2 separate regions of the Homo sapiens genome follow, and region 1 is linked to region 2. Evidence: promoter capture Hi-C in 16 types of primary human blood cells and fetal thymus (Javierre and others, 2016). All regions are on one chromosome and are shown on one strand. The core of a region is centred on a gene start or on the middle of the fragment in contact, and the rest is flanking DNA. Distances in the headings are between cores, read along the strand shown. Region 1 has its middle 76 kb from the start of ZNF519. Region 2 holds the start of MC5R (melanocortin 5 receptor).

Region 1 (4,281 bases), core at 722-3,221, 230 kb before region 2:
AGGCAGCAGTAGAAACCAATGACAACTAGAGGTGGGAGGGAGGCAGCAAGGGTTGAAAAACTAACTATTGGGTACTGTGCTCAGTACCTGGATGATGAGATCATTCTTAAAAATATTTGTTATTATATTTGAATATAAATATTAATTAATTTAACTTTCTAAGCATACCCTTCCACTTTATCCCAAAATATATTTATTAACTTTTAAAATATGAATATATACTGAGGTCAAAAAATGATGCTCTAACTTGTGATTTATAACGGTTGGGAATATAATTTAAAAAATTGATAAAGTCTTGATTGAAAACTGCTTGTATTTTTAAAGTGTAACTATTTAGAGAATAAAATAGGAATTGTTCAATTATTAATTTATGAATATTTACAGAGCATTATACTGAGAAATGTAGTTGGATGATGCTTCAATTTGAATAAAAGATTAGGCTCTCAAGTACAGCATTTCTTTCACTGCTAATGAGAAAGAATCCAAACTCTCTGTGAAAGGAAAGAAAGTCACACATTTCTTGACATGTTGCAGGATCTCCTATATTCTTTATATTTGAAGGAGTTTACCGTGAAGAAGCTGACTGCTATGAACAGCATGTGAAGGTGGAGGAATTCCAGCCCAGTGAGGAGCTCCCCTGAACCAACTGGCCTCAGTGACCCTCAGAAGGAGTCAAGGTGGGTATACGCAGCCTGGCAGCCCATGAGGCCCAAGGGGAGGGGAGGGAGCAGCACGGATTTAAGACCCACGTCCACTCCTGAGAAGAGAGCAGCAGGATTTGGTGCTTCTCCTCCAAGCAGGTTTAGAAAAGCCCCTTGTGATGGGCTCTGCCCAGTAACCATGGGTCCAGCTGCCACAAACCCCAAGGGACACCCCAACATTCTGCCTGGAACCCTCCTAGTAGCTGGCATTCTGGATTGGTCAATTTTATGGTCACAGACAGGGGAAATTTGTGAATGAAATATACTTATCTCATGACCTCTTCTACAGACTCCACCATTTTTGGCATCTCCTCCTTTGCCTCTTATTGCTTGGAGAGTTTGGATCTCTCTTTCAATTCTCGAAACAGAGAATTGAATTCCTCCATCAGCATCAAGTTGGTGCTCCTCATTTTTTTTTTAAGTATCCTAAGTCTGGGTATATTTAAAGACTCTATCTACCCTGACATTCTCTAAAGATAATTCAATCTCTGCAAACTCCTTACTGGTAGCACTAAGCTTGTTAGTGAGTTGGCATTTCTTTTCAATCTGTGAATTTAGTGTTTCCACAGTTGTTTCCACGCTTTACACAAAGTTGACCCCTAACAGACTGAACAAGCCTCAATAAAACCATGAGACCCACCAATAACCCGATGAGAGGCAAACACACCAGTGTCTCCACCTGGAGTTTGTGGACAGTGAGTTGTGGACTGAGATCATGTGGCAGGAGCTCCACCACCACCTTGCCCAGCTTCTGAAGGGTCAGTCCAGGGCCCAGGTCCACAGAGGATCTCAGACTCTCCATGGCACTGCAGCCACCACAGAGCTCTGCCCAGTAACCGTGGGTCCAGCTGCCACAACAAACCCCAAGGTACACCCCAACATTCTGCCTCGAACCCTACTAGTAGCTAGCATTCTGGATTGGTCAATTTTATGGTCACTGGCAGGGGAAATTTGTGAATGAAATATACTTATCTCCATTACAATTTGATGATCATTCTCCTTTCCATCTTATTGTTTTATCTTAACACAAAATTAAACTATAGTGAAATGTGCAGATGTTATCTGTCAATGACTTTACAGATTTTTATAACTTTATATTCCTTACAGTATCCAACAGCCCTATTAATATATGGATCATATCAGCACAGAAAATCCCCTCTGACATTTCAGACAGGCCCACCCACTCTACCATACACAGCCCTGTTTTGATTTTTATTTTATACATCATTTTTGACAGTTCTTCAACTTCATAAAAATTACAAAAATCACATTGTACACCTTCATGTGCGCCTCTTTTACTTGAAAGTGACTATTCCACAGATTTTCAATCAGTGGGTGTTTGTACATGCTAGGCGGGCTGTGGAAGGAAGTCAAATGGTCTACAAATGAGTTATTTTGATAGTCTCAGGTTACACATCCAGGTCTTACAGTCCTCCAGCTCAGAAGATTGTTTTCTTTACAATGTAATGGAGAAACATTCTTCTTAGTATGTTTATTTTTTATTTGGTGACTTACAAAAATTGATTTTCTGTAAAACAAGAGAGGCTTAAATGACATTAGGTCCCCTACTCCATTCTCTTTATAAACTGATTTTCATTTACTTGCTGTATCAGTTCTCAAGATAGATATTATTATACTATCTAGTCATTTTAGACTAAAACTTTACTAATTTATATTCAAACTCCTGTATATTAGGGATGGGATAGATTTTAACTATAAATTTTTATTCAGCATGTTTAATTTTTTCTTTTACATTCTTAAAATACTGATACTTATTTGAAAAGTGCCTTCTAGTAGTATAGGTAATTAAAAATACATGTAAATACATAAATTAGTTTTAAATTTTTCAGTAAAACCTTGTTTTTTTAATGGAAAGAAAATATGTCTTAGAAATAAAGTTTAATCTTACATTCCTACAAAATATATAACAGTGTTTTCCAAAGTTCTCCTTGACAGAGAAAGAGAGAGAGAGAAAGCAACCAAAGAGTAAATTGGAATTCATCAAAATTAGAAAACTAAGCTTTGTGGAAGTCCCCTTTAAAGGGATAAAGTAACATACTACAGACGTAAGGAAGTATTGGCCAGCTGCATATCTGACAAAGGGTAGTATCCAGAACATGTGAAAAACACTCCGAATGCCACAGTGGGGAAAAACTCAATTACATTAGGTAACAGATGTGAAGTGACATTTCCCTGAGGAGGAGATGGAGATGGCAAGTATCCACATGAAAATATGTTAGCTATTTCTCGGAGATGCAAATTGAAATCATACTGCAATATTATGGCAAATTTACCAGAATGCTTTAAGCAAAATACGGAAAATGTACCAAATACTGGTGAGCATGTGGAGAAACTGGATCACTCATATTGCTGGTGGTAATTTATTTAAAATGATATAGCCACTATGGGAAAAAAGTGTGGCAGCTTTTTTTTTTTAATATGGCAGTGAATTTCCTGTAATCAAAAACAACCATGACAAATTCATTAAATATCAAAAGCTACATTTTACTAAAAACAATCTGTCTTTTTAAATGTTGAATCATACACTGTATATAATACATGCTTCTTTCCCTCTTGGACTTCACTATCCATTTGAGTCCTTCAGCTAGCGTCAAGCACTTAGCCTCTGCTGTCTCTGACTTGGAGTAATCCCAGGCTTTGAAATCTCAAAGGTATTCACAATCTCCTCCCAGTCAGGGTACCTCACAGCTAGAATTCCTCGATTCCTAACTTGGGTGTTTTGGTGAATTTCCTCACTTTCTTCATTAATATTAACAGGCTCTATTATTTGCAGTCGGTCTTGGTCAGGTTTTACTCTTGCAAAACCATCCTGTATAATGAAGGAAACATGAAAGATGTTTTCCACTGTTTGGGGGAAAGATTGTGGATCAACCACAAAGGCAAAGAAGGACGCTGGGTAGCATCTCGAATATACAACTGCAACAATCCCAAGATTCTTTCTACTTCTTTCTTTGTTGTTTCTTGATGAGATTCTTCCCTTCTTTTTAACTGGGCAGGCATTATCGTCTCCTTTTGTATCATAGGAAGTTTTCTTGGACTAATGATTTGGGACTTTGGCACAAGGAACTCTCCTTGTGTTGAATCCAACAGAGAGTGGAGTGTATGGGCTTGATTAAAGGTGTTTTCTGCTCTTTTGCCTGATATTTTCCAGGAGTCATAGACTATGAATTCAAATCAGAGCTATCTTCATCACGGATGAGTTCTTCAGCTTCTGGCAGATTTACACCCATACATGTCAGTAAAGTTTCAACACAACATGTCCAACAAGTTCAGATCTGAGCACAGCTGCTTTGCTTTCCCTTTGCCCAGATCCGAAGCCAAAACAAGAATCTGGGCATCTAGGACTGCTTGTCTTGCTCGGGACACTCTCTTAGACAGAGTGAGAGCCTCTTCAGCACCTCAGTGCTCACAACCTCCATGCAGCAGGTGTCCTGATGGGTTGATTGGACTCAATGCTGATGCCCCTGCCTCACTGTGAGCCTCTGCTCACACTCAGCTCTGCCTCCAGCGTTGTCCACATGCCTCAGCCCATTGTGGTCACACACACAGTTCACCAGGG
Region 2 (4,484 bases), core at 378-2,877:
AGGAATTCATTGCTGGAGAAATACACCTCTTGTCTTGGCAGCAAATTTACTGTAAAACATGTTTTAAATTCACAATCCAAAGAGGTTAGCAGCCTACCAAAGAAAGACAGCAGCTAGCCTAGAACCAACACAGCCTAAGAAAGGGGATGAATGACACAGTGCATCAGAGGACTGGGCTCGGCTCACTCAGTCCTTTTTTTTTTTTTTTTTTAAGAGACAGGGTCTCCCTATGTTGCCCAGTCTGGTCTCAAACTCCTGGCCACAAGCGATCTTCTCTCTCAGCCTCCCAAAGTGCTGGTACTACAGGGGTGAGCCACGTGCCCGGCAGCTGGCTTGCACATTCTGACCTGCGTTCCTGAGACCTGGAAGAGTGCCCCTGGACACGCAGATTAGAATCTTCACCAGCCTCTTCTGCTCTCCTTGCTTTCAGCTCCCAGCCTTTCACATGCATCTTACTAGAGAGACACTCACCTCCAAGTGCCCAGGACAGTTTCACTTTTTATGGCTTCTCTCCTGGGCTCAAGTTCACTATCATAAGTGTCCCCAACTCATAACCTACAAAATCCCAGCCAGTCTCCCAATGTTCACATTCCTAAGGCTACTGCACGACATTCTCCTCAAGGGAGCTCCGATTTAAGACTGCCCAGACCCGTATTCCCTTAAGACAGACAGACAGGTGCATCCCTAACACTTGTCCTGACACTTCTTAGACCCATCAGGATTCAGCCTCCACAGCTGTAAGTAAGGCTATAACCAGAATGGTCTGTTACCCTGAGCAAAGTCACATGTTAAAAGCTACTGTCTTAAGTTTGTAAGTGTAGGCTGCACATACGTGTTAAAATTGAGGAAAACAGTGCTGCTTTTCCCTCAATACCTATTTTTCCCTCGCTTCTGCATTATGTGGAATTCCATGAGGTCTGCTTGATAGTTTATTAGGTCCGCGTGAGCACAGTATTTAAAAAAAAAAACAGCAATTTAAATGTACCACACTCCTTTGTTGCAAAATTTCTCTCTTATGATTCATTTTCAAAAATCCCTTTGCCCTCCAAACTCAGATCACATCTGGAGAGAATTTCTGTCATCACTGTCATCATTAATATTTGTAATCACTTTGGGAGGGAGGGAGGGGGTGAGGGACAACAAATTACTTAATAGGTACAATGTACACTATAGGGGTGATGGCTACACTAAAAGCCCAGTCTCCACCACTATGCAATACATCCATATAACAAAACAGCACCTGTACCCCCTAAATCTATAAAAATAAAAAAGGAAAAAATTGGTAATCTAAGCATTTATTGAACTACAATCATTTGTTACAGCTGAGTTCCAGCTCAGATATATCGGTAAATTATGCAATTATACTAAACATCATATCGAGCTGTGTTAAAAACTCACGGGGCAAGCTAGCTGCCGCCCCGCTCACTTCCACATGCAGCGGAAGCGCGATTTTGCATTTATTCTCAGGATCTCAAGGAGATAGAAAGTTGTGGCTATTTACCGGTGCTCCTCCTCGCGGGCCGCGGCGCTCAGCCCGGGCCCCCGGCGTCCCCGGGATCCGACGGCCGTGCGGCGCTCAGAGCCAGCCCCGGACGGGCCTCTCCCCCAGCTAGGCGGCTGCGGCTCTGCGGGGCTTTAAGCCTCCTGCCTGCCCGCGCCGGGCCCGCCTCCGCACCGCCGGCTGTCGCTCCGGGCGGCCTCCGCTGCCACCTAGTGGCCCAGCACGGCACAGCGGCCAGAGAACCGCGTCAGCCCCGAGCGAAAATCCCCCCGAACACACTCTTGAATGGTTGGATGGTTGCTTGGTTGGTTGGTTGGTCGGTCGGGTCGGTGGGTCGGTCGGTCGGTCGGTCGGTCGGTTGAATGGTTGGTTGGGTGAGTGGTTGCTTGGTTGGGTAGTTGGTTGGTTGAGTGGGTGGGTGGGTGGTTGCTTGTTTGGTGATTGGTTGGTTGGGTGAGCAGGTGGTTGCTTGCTTGGTTGGTTGGGTGGTTACGGGTTAGTTAGTTGGGTAGGTGGGTGGTTGCCTGATTGGTTGATTGGTTGATTGGTTAGGTGAGTGGATGGTTACTTGGTTGCTTGGCTGGTTGGGTGGGGGGTTCGTTGATTGGGTAGGTGGGTGGTTCCTTGGTTGGTTGATTGGTTGGTTGGGTAGGTGGGTGGTTGCTTGGTTGGTTGATTGGTTGGTTGGGTAGGTGGGTGGTTGCTTGGTTGAGTGAGTAGATGGTTACTTGGTTGCTTGCTCGCTTGCTCGCTTGCTTGGGTGGGTGGGGGGTAGTTGGTTGGGTAGGTGGGTGGTTGCTTGGTTCGTTGATTGGTTGCTTGGGTGGGTGGGTGGTTGGTTGGGTGAGTGGATGGTTGCTTGGTTGGTTGATTGGGTAAGTGGGGGTTGGTTGGGTAGGTGGGTGGTTGCTTGGTTGGTTGGTTGGGTCAGTGGGTGGGTGGGTGGTGGGTGGTTGCTTGGTTGGTTGGTTGGGTCAGTGGGTGGGTGGGTGGGTCGTTGGGTGGGTGGTTGCTTGGTTGGTTGGTTGGGTCAGTGGGTGGGTGGATGGGTGGTTGGGAGGGTGGTTGGTTGGTTGGTTGGTTGGCTGGGTCAGTGGGTGGATGGATGGGTGGTTGGGTGAGTGGTTGCTAGGTTGGTTGGGTCAGTGGGTGGGTGGATGGGTGGTTGGGTGGGTGGTTGCTTGGTTTGGTTGGTTGGGTCAGTGGGTTGGGTGGATGGGTGGTTGTGTGGGTGGTTGGTTGGTTGGTTGGTTGGGTCGGTGGGTGGATGGATAGGTGGTTGGGTGGGGGAGTGGTTGGTTGGGTCAGTGGGTGGGTGGATGGGTGGTTGGGTGGGTAGCTGCTTGGTTGTTTTTCTGGCTGGTTGCACTTTTTGTTTCTTTTCTCTTCCTCTTGAGCACTGATTAAAATGCTCCCGAGCTCAAAGAGGGCTTGTCACCCCGTTTCTCCTGGACAGTGGTCTCTGGGATGTCCTGATGATTGTTCTTTGGGAAGGAGGCCCAGTGCCTGGGAGCCCTCATCTGTGGCCCTACCACGCCCCTCTTTGCCCAAGGCTCTCACCCCTCCTCCAGGACTACACATGCCATGCCAGGCTTTATCAACCACACAGGCTTTCCTTACTCCAGCAAAAAAGAACAAAGGATGTCCTCTCACCAAATATCCTGGCCTTTCGCAATAGTTTCTGGACCCCACTCCTTCTCTGACACCTAAAACTGACCTTCAACCCCCAAAAGAATCATTATACTCACAATAAGCAGAAGTGCCACTGCCCTGCAAGCCAGGGCAGGATGCACGGGGCCATATCACTACCAGAGCTTTCCTTGGGCTTTGCAGATGATCACAACCTTCCAGTATTTCAAGTGTGGGGACCACAGTCTGGCTGGCCTCACGCCACTGGAGTCCCAAGCCGTGCTGGGAGCCACAGGGTGGAATTCTAGAAGGAGGTTCTGAATGTTGAGAATACATATTGGGAATGTGGTGTGAGGGAGGGAACCCATTTCCGTGTGTTGAAAACATCAGCAGGGTCAAGCACTCCCACATATAGTCCTCACATCCAAGATCAGATCAGAGAGGGCTCTGCAAAAGGTCCTGGTGTCCCAGGAAAGTGCTCAAAATGGAGGGCTCTGTGCAAGATGAGCAGCTGGACCACAGCAGGCGGCCTCCCACAGTGGTGAGGGCGGCTGGCCCAGGGGCCCTATGTGCAGGGGTGACCCTGAGTGCTGCACAGGAATTACCTTCCTCAACCTTTACGAAACCCTAGAAGTGGGTTTCTCCTCTCGCAATGGAAGGAGCCGGTGCTGGGAGAGGTGACTTAGCAAGCTCCAGCTTCCAGCGCTAGAGAGCTGAGCCCCGACTGACTCAGAGCCCAAGCACTTTCCCCGGCAGGACGCAGCCTCCCTGAGAGCCCTGGTGCCACCGGGCATTATTCTTTTAAAATGCTGCTGGATTTGATGTGCAGTGTTCCTGTCTTCATACTGTCTTTATCAGATTTTGGTATATAAGTTACCCTAACTTTGTTTAATAAACTGGGGAAATATTTTGATTATTTTTATATTCTGAAACACCTTAGGTGATGTAGGAATTCTCGGTTTCTTGCAGGAAAATAATTGAATTAAGGTTAATAGAGTTAAGAGAATAGAGACTAAGCTCTTCAACTGTTCCTGTCATTGGAAACTTTCTCCCAAACAGCAGCCTAATGACAATGCTGAACACACACGATGACATGAGCCACCCAGGAAGGAATGTTCCTTTCCCTGTCAAAGACCAGCATAACATGCAACAACCCAGGTGTTTTATTTCTTGAACAATGACAACAGAGAGGATTCTCAATTCGAGTGCACAGAGACAACCCGTGGAGTCATATCTGTGAAGGCTTGCAAGGGTCAAATCTAGCTGGACACTGGATGTCTCGGCCTGGGTTCTCTGAGTCACAGGCTCTGAAGAGTTCACCATGCAGGATGCTGTGGGGAAGCCTCCTGGGGGC

Evidence for each region. The method cuts DNA at HindIII sites, captures the fragments that hold promoters and counts their contacts. A CHiCAGO score of 5 or more calls a contact.
Region 1: a contact is called between a fragment that was not itself captured here and the fragment with the promoter of MC5R in region 2, in 1 of 17 cell types (megakaryocytes). The highest score is 5.1, in megakaryocytes.

The regions. Positions count from the first base shown.
Region 1 is chr18:14,053,796-14,058,076 of GRCh38, reverse strand. It overlaps the pseudogene LOC100128776. Among named protein-coding and RNA genes, the nearest start is that of ZNF519, 76 kb to the left of the region's middle. The HindIII fragment of the contact is 1,504 bases long and covers 1,220-2,723 here.
Region 2 is chr18:13,821,292-13,825,775 of GRCh38, reverse strand. MC5R (melanocortin 5 receptor) reads right to left here and starts at 1,627. Exons shown (of 2, transcript NM_005913.3): 1 at 1,502-1,627; 2 at 1-49. The coding sequence starts at 10. RefSeq lists silencers at 1,423-1,512, 1,523-1,812, 1,778-1,958. The HindIII fragment of the contact is 16,860 bases long and covers 1-4,484 here.